5 separate regions of the Homo sapiens genome follow, and regions 1, 2, 3 and 5 are each linked to region 4. The links are contacts of gene promoters, found by promoter capture Hi-C in blood cells and fetal thymus (Javierre and others, 2016). All regions are on one chromosome and are shown on one strand. Each heading gives the region's core, a stretch centred on a gene start or on the middle of the fragment in contact. The rest is flanking DNA. Distances are from core to core; before and after follow the strand shown.

The links. The method cuts DNA at HindIII sites, captures the fragments that hold promoters and counts their contacts. A CHiCAGO score of 5 or more calls a contact.
Region 1: a contact is called between a fragment that was not itself captured here and the fragment with the promoter of LLPH in region 4, in 2 of 17 cell types (total B cells and naive B cells). The highest score is 5.6, in total B cells.
Region 2: a fragment that was not itself captured here is called in contact with the fragment with the promoter of LLPH in region 4 in 4 of 17 cell types (megakaryocytes, M2 macrophages, endothelial precursors and 1 more); the score reaches 7.2 in megakaryocytes.
Region 3: a fragment that was not itself captured here is called in contact with the fragment with the promoter of LLPH in region 4 in 3 of 17 cell types (megakaryocytes, erythroblasts and endothelial precursors); the score reaches 9.8 in megakaryocytes.
Region 5: a contact is called between a fragment that was not itself captured here and the fragment with the promoter of LLPH in region 4, in 5 of 17 cell types (total CD8 T cells, total B cells, total CD4 T cells and 2 more). The highest score is 7.4, in total CD8 T cells.

What each region holds. Positions count from the first base shown.
Region 1 is chr12:66,658,034-66,660,733 of GRCh38, reverse strand. The region is part of intron 1 of GRIP1 (glutamate receptor interacting protein 1); the gene reads left to right. Among named protein-coding and RNA genes, the nearest start is that of GRIP1, 20 kb to the left of the region's middle. RefSeq lists an enhancer at 1,308-1,809. The HindIII fragment of the contact is 3,950 bases long and covers 1-2,700 here.
Region 2 is chr12:65,298,007-65,300,706 of GRCh38, reverse strand. All of the region lies in intron 1 of MSRB3 (methionine sulfoxide reductase B3), which reads right to left. Among named protein-coding and RNA genes, the nearest start is that of MSRB3, 21 kb to the right of the region's middle. The HindIII fragment of the contact is 896 bases long and covers 817-1,712 here.
Region 3 is chr12:65,279,273-65,281,972 of GRCh38, reverse strand. All of the region lies in intron 1 of MSRB3 (methionine sulfoxide reductase B3), which reads right to left. Among named protein-coding and RNA genes, the nearest start is that of MSRB3, 1.9 kb to the right of the region's middle. RefSeq lists a silencer at 2,541-2,700. The HindIII fragment of the contact is 1,737 bases long and covers 389-2,125 here.
Region 4 is chr12:66,129,479-66,132,178 of GRCh38, reverse strand. It overlaps LLPH (LLP homolog, long-term synaptic facilitation factor), which reads left to right and starts at 1,429. Exons shown (of 3, transcript NM_032338.4): 1 at 1,429-1,474. It overlaps LLPH-DT (LLPH divergent transcript), which reads right to left and starts at 1,428. Exons shown (of 2, transcript NR_125724.1): 1 at 1,204-1,428. RefSeq lists enhancers at 1,406-1,515, 1,556-1,705. The HindIII fragment of the contact is 2,232 bases long and covers 854-2,700 here.
Region 5 is chr12:65,179,043-65,181,742 of GRCh38, reverse strand. All of the region lies in intron 1 of LEMD3 (LEM domain containing 3), which reads right to left. Among named protein-coding and RNA genes, the nearest start is that of LEMD3, 11 kb to the right of the region's middle. The HindIII fragment of the contact is 2,224 bases long and covers 149-2,372 here.

The sequences.
Region 1 (2,700 bases), core at 19-2,518, 530 kb before region 4:
AATTGACAAACTAATAACGTAGGCTTCTTTTCAAACATCACTTCATGCAGCAGAAATGTGTTATGTGCTGCCATATGAAACAATGGGCTGAAACTGGTTTATGAGAAATGTGTATGTGAAATTGCTTTGTAAAATTTTGTACAATTATTATGTAGTCTTATGGTTTCATGAAATATAAATGTTGAAGATGTTGTAATTATACAATACAAATCTTGTTTAACAGACCTTGATTAATAATAACTAATTGATACTTTGTTATTAGCTGATGGATAAGTTCTTGATTTAAATATCAATTAGAGGATAATTCATTAATTTAATCATTTTTCCTCAGTGCCTCAAACAGCATTGAAGGTTTACCCATGACATAAGAACAATCTGATAAATATTCCAATACTAAGCTACAGTCATTCATTTGAATACGTAGGTGCATTATTATAATAGGAGATATATTATGATATTGATTTTGATATTTAATATTTAGCTATTATTTTAGGGTATGAATTTTATAGACCATTTTAATAGCCAAACTAAGGTTTGAAGATAGTCACAAATTCTAACGTGAACACAATATTGATTCCTTACTTCAAAGACAGCTAACAGTTCACAAGAGAATAGTTGGGCTGAGGCCGTCACATTTTATGCATTTAGGCATCAACATGAGAATCATAGAAAACAGTAGATACTTTAGTTTTTCTCTCTAAAGAAGCATGAACATTGATTTATTTTGATGCTATCTTGGTACAGCAAATAGAATCATTTTAATAGAAAAACAACCCTTTGTTTATTTTGTGTGTTGAACCTGTGTGTTAACTCTATGCGTTTTGGGAGTTTATACTATATAAGACCATTTCTGTGGTCTAAAAGCAAGGTAGAACTCCTTTTTCTTTTCCACTAGAGAGAATTTACAAGAGAATTGCATGGCAACAAGTCACCAAGAGTTAATAGTTATTGAGTCATCAGTGAGTATATGCTACAAAACTGGGTCCTTCAAGAACTATATCTTTAAAATGTCCATGTTTAGAGAACATACAAAACATACTGTCAGAATGAACAGCAATTTTAAATGTAAAAGAATTGTTCTATTAGATTGTGTACATATAGAGTTTATATTAAATTAGAATCAATACAGAGACTGGTACATGTGTTCTTTTTTAGGAGCTTATGAAATGGAAACACCTTAACATTCACATCCTCAAGGATTATGTGACACTGTATTAATGCATGTGGAAATGTAACTTTTAAGTATTTTGTTATGAAATAAATAGAGCAAAGTTGTTTGCAAAAAGAAATGCACAATGACAACTTCATTTATTCATTCACAAATATTTATTGAGCACCTACGTGTGAGATAAAACTCTGGGTGGTGAGGGTTTACACAGCAGCAAATAAAATAGGCCTTGTCTCTGCATCCATGGAGCTTCACTTCTAATGGCAGAGTAAAACAATAAACAAATATTCAAATAAATGCACACTCAATGTTATGCAGAAAGTTAACAGAGGGTGTGAGGTTACAGAGTGAGGGGGAAAGCGCTATTTGAAATGGAGTAGTCAGGAACAGCCTCTGATTAGGTGATACTTGAGCCAAGACATGAAAGCCACATGACTATCTAGGGTAGAGTATTCTACACAGAGAGAAGAGCAAGTACAAAAGCCATGCAGCAGGAATGAACTTGGCATGTAAGGATCATCACGGGGCACAGTATTGCTAGAGCAGGGTAAGCAAGGCAAGGAGTTCAGGAGCCGCTTTTTATTTTTATCCTTTTATGTTGTTGTTGTTCGTTTGTTTTTGTTTTATTTTGTTTTTTTTTTGGAGACAAGATCTCACTGTGTTGCTCAGACTGGAGTGCAATGGCATGATCATGGCTCACTGAAGCCTCAACTTCCCAGGCTGAAGCAATCTTCCCCCCTCAGCCTCCCAGGTAGTTGGGAACACAGGTGCATGCCACCACACCTGGCTATTTTATTTTATTTTATCTTATTTTATTTTTATTTTTAGAGACAGGATCTCCCTGTGTTGCCCAGGTCTCAAACTCCTGGGCTGAAACAGTCCTCCTGCCTTGGCCTCCCAGAATGCTGGGATTACAGGCATGAGGCACCATGCCTGGCCAGGAGCTGCTTTTTAGATGAAGGATTTTTTTTTCTTTTTTTTTTTTGAGATGGAGTCTCGCTCTGTCACCCAGCCTGGAGTGCAGTGGCACGATCTTGGCTCACTACAAGCTCCACCTCCCGGGTTCACGCCATTCTCCTGCCCCAGCTAGATGAAGGATTTTAAGTTGGTTGCTTATCATATCCACATGCAGTCATGCCCCCAAAAGGATGCTCCCAAAAGGAATGGATTACAGGAATACAAGACTACAATTTTAATTACTACCGTACTTTACTTACTAGGCATTCCTTCACATTTACAAGGATCTTTTCTAGCTGCGAAGAGAGTCCTCATCCCAAACCTACGGTTAGCTTAGGTTGCATTAAGTTCTCAAAGTAATTTGCTAATTAATAGTAGCAAAAATCTTGTGTATCATTTGTATCATTCTTATTGATTTCTTTTGTCTTTATTTTTCAGAGGTTTTTTTGCATTAACAAATCAGTTGTATAAATATTCTTATATATATGTTTATTTATGTTTATTAACTTTTGAAATAATTTCATACCATTACTTTCACTAATAAGTACACTTTAAATGTAGAGAATTCCCCCTTA
Region 2 (2,700 bases), core at 15-2,514, 830 kb after region 4:
ACAAAGAAGAACTAAACCTTCAGCATTTTAAACCATTGGGATTTGGGGGCTATTTGTTCCAATTGAAACTGAAGCTTAGAGAATTACCTGCTTGAGGTTAAATGGCCAGTAAATTATGGAGCCAGAATTTGAACTAAACTTTATTTTAATCTCTTCTACTACATTCCAAACTCCTCAAGGGCAGGGGCCCTTGTGCCCCCAGATTGATGTCCTTGTTTTAGAAAACAACAGAGTCTGGAAGGATGAGAAGTCTAATGCCAAGGACAGTGAGACCACTTCCAAAAGTCTATAGTTTCTCTCTCATTAGTCATCCCTTCTATCCTAAATATCCCAAAGAGATTCTTAATTTAGTCAGAAGATACGGCTGCCCTCTCATATTCCCACATTAAAGGCCAGGAGACAGCTACTTGACTTTGATCACTCAGAGCTCATAAACTTGTCTCAACACCAAAAACTAAAGATTTTCCTCAGCTGCAAAAGTGACTGAGTAGCTTCTGGTCACAATAAAATGACGATGTGAAGATCTTATTTCCTGAAGCAATTGAAAGTTTATTGGACACTAAGCACATTCACTGTAGAAAGCTAGTGATCTAGCAAGTCAATGCCTAAATCCAGACCTTACAGATACAACTTTTGATTTTAAATCAATCAACAAATACAAGGAAAATCAATCCATTTGCCATGATGATAGAAAAATGTCTGTTTCTTTCAACAGCTGAGATCATGACCCTGGAACTAATGAGAAGGAACCACATTAATAGCTCACATTGTGACCTGGAAGTAATCGATGTGCACATAGTCATAACAATATAAGCTTTTAGAGACAACCTATGGACAAATATTTGACTGTGATTTCAGAACAGACTGTAAGCATTAGCAAGTTCACATTGTGAAACAAAAACTATATAGCAACAAAATGTAAAGAAGGCTGGAAAGAAAGGTGGAGGAAAGACTCAGGGTATCAGTGTCCTCCTCTTATAAAGTAGAGGGTTAGAAGACACCAACTAGACTGGAAAACGCTAACTGACCCCTAGAATCCATACTCCCTTCTTCTTATTAGTAATAGAACCCCCTGAAATTTTAACTGAACATACAGCCTCATTTCTCACCTTCCCTTGCAGCTAGATGTGAACATGATACTAAGTTGTGGAAAATGGAATGTAACTCAATGTCATGTATGATCTTTCAGCTCATCTCCTTTAAAGACAAAGTCACTTGCTTTGGATTTCCTCTTCCCTCCTGAGAAATGGCAGCAACTGCATCAGCACACTTGAACCCTGAGAAGTAAGGCACTTGATGAGGAAGACAAACCTAACAGGTCATGAGGCAGAGCTATTCACCAGCCCAACCTTGGACTAGTATATGAAAGGGAAACTTCTACTTTCTGTAAGTTGCTCCACTTGTAATCTCTTTGTCAGAGCAGCTTAGCCTGTTGTCTATTAAAGTCTAACAATGGTAAACAGAAAGGTGAAGAGACAGCAGATAAATACTTATATTCTGTAACTGGTTATTATCTGAAACTGATGCATCAATAAATAGCACTATAACTATATTAACCAAAATTATGAAAGTAACTACTAGAATAATGATTTTAAAACATGACTTCAGAGGAGTGAGACAGAAATAGAAAGAGGTGGAGTTGCAGGTAGTTTTTTTCACCTTAGTTCCCCTGTACCAAGAGCCATGTGCAGGTTTTTTATAAAAGTAAAGCTTATACATAAAAAAAGATCCAGTGCCTCAATGGGCCATTTTATCTAAAGAAAAAACCTGGTAATGCAAGCTGACTAAATCCTATGCCTGGGACTATAAACTACAGTATCTATATCACTAAAAGACTATTTTTAGTGAGCTAAATATAAGCCTTAAAAATACATATCCTTAAATCATATTTCATATATTTTAAGTCAGAACTTTGCCACCCATTCATGGAATAAAAAGTTTTAGCACTGGAAATTACAAGTAAATATCTGCTCTTGTATCTGAATTTTTGTATCCCTCCCCATAGAAAATAGAAAATTATTAAATAAAATTATAATGATGGCTTGCATCTGATATAGCAGATAAAAGAGAAGTTTTATGAAAATGGACTCCTTATATTCCACTAAAAGGTATATTTAATGACCTCTATCAACTATCCTTTGACATCATGTTGGGCTTAGGAGAGAGGAAAAGTCCTGAATGAGATCATAAAGTAGAAGAAATAAAATATTTTGCAAAATTTCTACTTTGTCCTATACTGTTTTTCTTCGTGAATTTTAGGTGATTAAAAGATGTTTTTCAAAGAATCTGAGCATTCCATATCTACTTCAAACTGCTTATTATATCCCAAACTCAATTCATTTATTACTTTCTTTCTTCACTAATTATTCTGTCTGTATTTCTTTGTTAGAAAGTAGTCCCATCAGCAGGGTGTGGTGGCTCACGCCCATATTCCCAGCACTCTGGTAGGCCAAGGCAGGAGGATCGCTTGAGCTCAGGAGTTTGAGACCACTCTGGGCAACATGGTGAAACCCTGTTTCTACCAAAAATACAAAAATTAGCCAGTCGTGGTGGCATGCACCTGTGGTTCCAGCTACTCGGAACGCTGAGGCGGGAGGATTGCTTGAACCCAGGAGATCAAGGCTGCAGTGAGCCAAGATCAGGCCACTGCACTTCAGCCTGGGTGACAAAGTGAGGCCCTGACTCAAAAGAAAAAAAAAA
Region 3 (2,700 bases), core at 8-2,507, 850 kb after region 4:
AAAGTAAATCCTTGAGATACAGCAAGAAGAAATGCTAACTAACAACTGGCAAATTAAATAGCTGATTACCCTTCCATCCAAATCCAGTTTAATTCTGCTAAATCAGATAGGTAGATCCAATTCAATCTTCTCTGAGGTAAGATCAAAAGGTGATAACCCATTATAGGCTATTTCATCTGGAATGCTCACAGATAACTAGCCTTCCCAACCACAGAAATGTTTGGATGCTCTCTGGCGGTATCCCTAACCCAGACCTAAATAACAAAACTGAATATCAAACTGTCTTAAGGCCTGGGCTTAACTATCCCCAAAAACCAGTTAGGCATTTACCCTATGACATAATCAGCACTTTCTGCTATTAGATGAGGAAGAAAAAGTGATAGAAGCTTAACACGGAATCTGTCCAGGTATGTATGTATCTTTGTGCATGTTCCAGGTATTAACACAATCCTGAGACAGATCCGGACTCTCCAACACTGGACCACACCCATCACATCTGGCTAAGGTAGGCCAGTTTGACATGTATAGCAAGTCACAGGCTGACAATCAGAAGTTTGAACCACATGTAGTAGGTGGCTCTGAAGAGTTACATAAACAAAAACAACATTATAGGATCTTGGAGTTAGAAGAGACATGGAAACTGTCCAACTTAATAATTTTACCGAGAAGCTAAACATGGGAATCAAATTCATCAACCAAATCCATAACTATGATAAATTAATTATACAGGTGCAGATAAATTAGAGGGATTGTGACCAGATTATGACAGAACCAAAAATGCAGTGGTGTGATCACGGCTTACCACAGCCTCGATCTCCCTGGCCCAAGCAATCCTCCCACTTTGGCTTCCCAAGTAGCTGAGACCACAGGAGTGAGCCACTATGCCCAGCTAATTTTTTTTTAATTTTTGTAGAGACAGGGTATCCCTATGTTGACCAGGCCGGTCTCGAACTCCTGGGTTCAAGCAATCCTCCCACACTGGCCTCCCAAAGTGTTGCATTACAGGCATGAGCCACCACACGTGGCCTTAAAATCTATTTTTAATTATTAAATGGCATATGTATTAGAAAAACTGATGAACCTTACTGTTGGGATAGTCTTTGGATATTCTTTTGAGTTGAGCAAAATAGCAAGGATTTCTGACTTAATGGATTAACATCTTAGTTAAAATATTAGAACAAGCACTTTTAAAAACAAAAAGCAGTGTGTTGATTCAAAATCTAAATTACATTGTATGCTGCAACCTTGCCATACAAGCAGTTTAAGCACTGTGACAAAATTCTAGATAAGTAGCAAAGAGCTACTTATCTTAATATAAAAATTTCCAGATATTCATATAGGGCCCTAATAAAAGTCATCAGAAATTAGACTGATATATCAGCTGGGACCGGAATTAAAAGAATATATGTTTAAATGGTCCAAATATAAACTTGATGTTCAAAATTACTGGCAAGGGGCCAGTACAGTGGATTCTGGTCTTCGAAGGCCGTTTCACCACAAGTATTAGGTAAGTCAACACATCACTGAGGAAAAAGAAAGCATACATATGTTTCCTGGCAATAAAATCCACTCTTCACTATCCAGCACAGTATTTTTTAGAAATCCATTGAAAAATGTGAAATTAGAACCTGTTGTATTTCCCAAGAAGTGCTATTAAAGTTACTTCCAAAATATGAATCTATAAAAAACAGGGTTTTTTTGAAAAACAATACTATGCAGAAAGAAACATGAAACTGATATCACTGCTCAAGTTACTATTTACAAATTGCAAATTGAATAAAGTTAAATATTGTAAATATCTGCCATTAATCTGAACTGACAATTTTATAAGTTATATGAACCCTGAAGTTTTTTTATAGACAAAATTGTTTTTGAAAATCGATCTTGCCACCAGCGCTGCAAATGAAAATATGAAGAGATAAACCAGAGAGTACTGAATATAATCTATGCTTCATAGAGTCATGTTTCAACTAATTTATGAGTCCTAGTTTGCCATATCTTATTTGACAATTTAGTCTATTGGTAGAAAAAACAAAAGCAAACTAAAATCTCCTAAGAAATCTCAGCTCTAAGGAATTATAATTTATATTCTTCCATTCCCGATAAAATTAAGAAGCAAGAAGCTTTGACGACTACTCATCACAAACGTAAAAGTCCATGCAATTTCACATTTACCTTTATCCCTACCTTTGTACTTTAAAATAACTGCTTTTTAAAATAATAATCTGATATTAAATTCCCCCCAACAGTTCCCACATGATTCAAGAAGATTATCTTATAAAGTCTTACTGTAACGACTTCATAACTGCCACTTCCGATAGCTATTAGCCCTAAACCAAATAAGGCAGGAACAGCACTTTTCATTCATATAGTTTGACTCGAAATAGCCCAGTGTAAAACTTCAAAAATAGACTTGGATGCCTTTTTCTGCTTAAAAACAAAGCAAAACTGATACCTGGCAAACTCGGGGTTCTGTTCGATTTTGGCCTGTGAAATGCCAGGCGGGCCCGCTGGAGTCTGGCCCAGCAGCGGGGCAGCAGCGCAGGGAGGGCGGGCGGCGGGTGCGCTCCCGGGTGCGCCCCTCCCTGCCGCCTGCCCGCCGCCCCGCACCCCCGTCCTCTCCGAGGCGCGCGGCGAAAAGCGCAGGCCTGGCGGGCCGGTTCCCACGCCTCGGGCCCGTTATCTGAGCGGCAACCCCGG
Region 4 (2,700 bases), core at 180-2,679:
TTTTTTCTGGTGCCAAGTGCCTATTCAAAAGTCTTGTCCTGGTATGTTAAACAAGATACAGTAAATATGGACTATCAGAATATAAGTTTTCTCTAAAATGCAATGTGCACTTATATTTTTGGGTGAGGTAGCTAACTTCTCATTTGAAAGATGAGGTACAGTATATGGTTAACTTGTAAAACAGAAATTCACTTGCTTTATAAGAACGAAATCTCATTTAAATAAACCAGGTTTCTTAGGCATGCTTCCTTTTTTTATATCAAATGTTCTAGGTTTTTTTCAGCCTCTTTAACCTTGCTATATTCTGAATTCAGTAATTTCCATACTATGCATGGTTTCATAAAGGACACAAATTTAAAGAAAAAAGGTACCCATAGATTGCCTCAGAACCCCTTTTTCTGGCAACCAGCAGGAGTTTACCAGGCCATCATTAAAGACATGTTTTTTGGGTATATGTCGTAAATCTCTAGAAACATTGCTTACAAATAGTACTGTGTAGCTATACTTTTGAAACTATAATGTAAAAAGGGTACCATTTGTTGAACTCTTACAGCATCAATTAGGTTGTATTATGTTCACTTTAGGGACAAGGAAATTCAGGCCCTTATGACATTAATTACTCACCCATATCGTTCACAAGTGTTGGAAGCAAGAGTACAACACAGACCTATATGGTTCCAAAGCCTATGCCAGTAGAAATAGTTGTACAGTAAGTGTTATTCGTGAGCTAAGACAATCGTCCTAGGCTTAGCATTGTGTCTGATACGTAAGTGATCAGACAGGTAAACATTGATAGAACTGAAATCCTTTGATCATTTTACCCTTTAAATTCTTCTCTGGGGTAGGAAAAGCTTGTTTTCTGTTTTTGGTAACCGCTTTGAGTATAACTGACATGCAATAAGTTGCACATATTTAAAGTGTGCAGTTTGATACGGTTTTACATATGTGTACATCTGTGAGGCCATCACCCGAGATGAGAAAATGCACAGGCTGCAAATAAAAATGATCTCAATACGGCCTCTGGAAGAACACCTGATCTAGGCTGACTTGATCTAAGGAAATACATGAGTATCATGTAAACGCTGAGGTCAGATCTAAAGGTCGGCTCGGAGCTCCCTATCTGACAAGTAGGGTCCCCTGGCCAGGTTCACTCCATAGGTTAGTCTCGGGGCTACCCTGCCCACGTCCGGAAAGCGGACCTACCTGGGGCCTAACCTTGACCGGACACCCGTCAGCATTCTCCAAATCCGACTTCTACACCTGTATGGGACGGACCAAGTTTCTAGGTCCGCGATCACACCAATGGCGGAAGCTCGTCAGCGCCCGGGTTCCAAAATCCCGCCTCTCAAGGCTTCTTGAGACATTTTGTCTCCCGGCGTGCAATGCGTCCGCCCCGGGTGGCCTCCGCCCGGAAGACGGAAGTGCAAAGACTTCCGGTCGGCGTGAGCGTGAGGTGTGGGTGTTCGTTTCTCAGGTGAGTTCGGTTCCTCACCGGTCCAGTGACACATGGGACTTGGGGCTTGATTCCGCCACCCTTGGAGAATTTCGTTTCTTGACACTCGCTGGGCTATACTTGAGCTCCAGTCCGGAGATGCAGGCCTTGTTGAGGGCGAGGGTTCCCCTTGCTCTTTTTGGTGGGGGCCCTCCGGCTTCCGAGTGCACTGGATAAAGTGGAGCCCACCCCTGTCGTTCACTCCCGCTGAAGTTAACTTCGGCCCTCAAGGTTGTTTGCCGCCCGCTTTCCTAGCCCCTCGCAAGGGTTGAGTTATGTAGACAAGGGAGCGGAATGACTGTGATTGCCGGCGTTCAAAAAATGTTAGTGGTTCGTTCAACAAGTATGCAAAAAGTGTGCGATTCAGCAGTGAACAAGACCTTTCCCTCTACCTTCGTGGAGTCTACAGTCTGGGGAGAGGGTCGGGGGGCGTGACAGAAAACAATGGTTTCAGGTTGTAACACTTAATAAGCAGGGAAGGGAGCTTACGGAGGTCAGAGGAGTCCTTTCTGAGGTAGCGAATGAAGGAGCAAGCCTTGAGAAGAGCAGTTGCCAGGCATAGGGACAGCAAATATGAAGGCACTGACGTAGAGATAGTTTGGACTCTTTACAGACGTAGTTGGTGCCTGCGGGGATGGGGATGGAGAATGAAATGAAATAGAGTTGAAGGAGGCAGGGGACAGATCACAAATGACCTTGTAGATCTTGAATATATATGAGGGAGGAGGTCTTTAAAGAACTCGAAGAAAGGCAGTGAATGCTTTTTTAAAAGATCACACTGAGCACCTTGTGGAGGATTTAGGGCGGAACTGAGTGGAAAGAAAACAAGAGTAGGAATAGATAAGTTTACAGTCGTTAAGTTGGCTTGAGAGGATGGATAATGAAGATGAGGTGAAGTGTTTATAAAAATCATTTGTAATTTGTAAGCTGTTGCATAAATGTAAGGTGATGACGCTGTTGCATTCTGGGGAAATTAAATTTCTGTATTTTGTAAAGAAATTCAGCCGGGCGCGGTGGCTCAAGCCTGTAATCCCAGCACTTTGGGAGGCCGAGGCGGGCGGATCACAATGTCAGGAGATCGAGACTATCCTGGCTAACACGGTGAAAACCCGTCTCTACTAAAAATACAAAAAATTAGCCAGGCGTGGTGGCGGGCGCCTGTAGTCCCAGCTGCTCGGGAGGCTGAGGCAGGAGAATGGCGTGAACCT
Region 5 (2,700 bases), core at 11-2,510, 950 kb after region 4:
ACCTACATTTATTAAAATTGTGTGGTTTTTAAAGGTAGAATTCCCAATTGAGAAAATGGTAATACAGAAAAGGTGAAAGGAATGATCAACACACATTACTTCAATTAGCCAACTATTTCTTTTGTGTATATATACACTGTGATAAGCTTTACCAGATGGTATACTCAAATTTACAGAAACTAATTTTTAAAGTATGTTTCCCAAGTCACAATATATAAATCTGATACACTGTTGCATGGTAACAAAATCCCAATTCTGAAGGCTAGCTAGTGCAGAAATATTTAGGAAAAAGAAGAGAATGCCAGCCAAAGCGTGGGGAGAGTGTCACTCCTATAGTTCTAAAAGGTATGATATATACTTATCTTCTGCCATTACCTGGTACATAGTATAGGTGCTCAATAAATAATCTGGGTGAATGCGTGACTGAATGAATAAATGAGTAGGAGAAACTTAATGTTTCTTCAAATGAACTAAATCAAACAAGAAAGCATTTGTGATCCCATGGGAGATACACTTATAAACTAAGGAAGTCCTTAATAAGGCTGACCAAGGTTCCAAGCCATAGCTCAGAGGCTAGAAGAAGTAGATATCCCAAGATTCCCCTCACCTCCTAATTAATTTCAACAATCCTCTTCATATGCTTTGAAAATTTTACCTTGGTGAATTCCTACAGAGCAAAAGCATCCTTTGTAAGTACAGCATGCTTTCAGGAATTAGCCATAGTCAGAAAATTGTGTGTGTGTGTGTGTGTGTTTGTGTACATACTCAGATATATATGAGCTAACTGAGAAACAAAATTAATTTTCTGCTATGTGCTAAAATATCCATTTGCTACTAAAGGGTTTTTTCTATTCATGTCATATTCAGGGCAGAACAGCAATTGGTGCATACTTACTACCCAATTAGTTCAGGAGAGCTGAACTACACTCTTGCATAGTTTTACAACCAAGCCTTGTTTTTAAACTTTAGCTTGCCATTTGATAGTAACATAGCTGTAAAGATGAATTCAGAAGTCATCTTGCAAAAGCATTTTAAGTAAAAAGCTGTGCAAAAGCACAGAGCAATAAATCTAGCACCCAGGAAAAATTCAGTGGTATAATTTTAAACTATACCTTGACATAAAAGAAAATGAAGACATATGAAAAGTAATTCATGATGGCTTCCATATGATAGATGCATTATTCTATTTTTAGAGATTACCTCTGTTACTATAACTTTTATAACCTTTTTGAAGAGCTAATTTCCTAAGAAATATATTTTTTAAATAATGATATTAAACATGCAAAATAAATTATTAAAACCTAACTTATTTTCTTCCTGGTAAACTCTTGTTTAAAAAAATTTTGGCAATATTGTTAATAAAGAATATTATTAACTATATATATAATATATAATATATAAACTGATGCAGTTTAAAGCATAGATTATTAAAACAGTGAAATCCAAAGGTTACTGCTCAACTATACTGTTACTGGTTCACTTTAAAATCTATGTTAGGGCAGGGCACGGTGGCGCACACCTGTAACCCCAGCACTTTGAGAGGCCGAGGCAGGTGGATTACCTGAGGTCAGGAGTTTAAGACCAGCCTGGCCAACATGGTGAAACCTCATCTCTACTAAAAAATACAAAAATTAGCCGGGCGTGGTGCCATGTGCCTGTAATCCCAGATACTTGGGAGGTGGAGGCAGGAAAATCACTTGAACCTAGGAGATGGAGGCTGCAGTGAGCCGATATTGCACCACTGCACTCCAGCCTGGGCGAGAGAACAAGATCCTGTCTCCAAAAAAATAAAAAATAAATAAAATCTATGTTAAAAATAAATCTAAATATGAAAATCAAAATCCAAAGTTATAAGCAAATAACTGTTATAACAATTTCCACAATTAGTATTAAGCTATGTTCCCATATTAAATGGCAGCAATTTTTAATGTATAATCAATACAAGATTAAAATACATCTTTTTTAAAATGTTATTTTAAGTTCTGGGATACATGTGCAGGATGTGCAGGTTTGTTACATAGGTAAACGCGTGCCATGGCAGTTTGCTGCACCTATCAACCCATCACCTAGGTATTAAGCCCAGCATGCATTAGCTATTTTTCCTGATATTCTCCCCACCCCTAGAATATATCTTCATTCGAATTTAGATTATATCATTAGTAATAAAATTTTCACAAACAAGTTAGTAGTACTTATTTATTAACAAATACATTTTGGAGAGTTCCAACAGTTTAAGGTGTCCTTCTCTTTTAAACAACTTACAAACTATATAATTATCTTTGCACTGAGGCTATAAATTTCCATTTATATAACATATTTTTCAGATAGGGAAAGTTAATATTGAATAATCAATGAGCAAGGAGAAGCAAGCTTTAAGAACTTCCCAACTCTTAGGAATCATGAAAATAATTTTTCATGATTATTTTAGTGTCCCTGAAATTATCAAATGCATCATTTCCATTAAAACATATATGAGTATAAAGGGAAAATATGAAGTTTATTCAAAAGGAGCAAAAAAGGGAGATCAAATGTATGAAAAGTTCTTTATATCCTAAAAATGAACAACAGAAAGAACAAGTTGTAATTGGTAATACAAATCAAAAGATCACTTTCCCTACCAGTTTTGAGACTGCAAATATTTTAAAAATTAGAAATAGTTTTAATATTGTATTATTGTTCTATGTATTATATATTATAGTT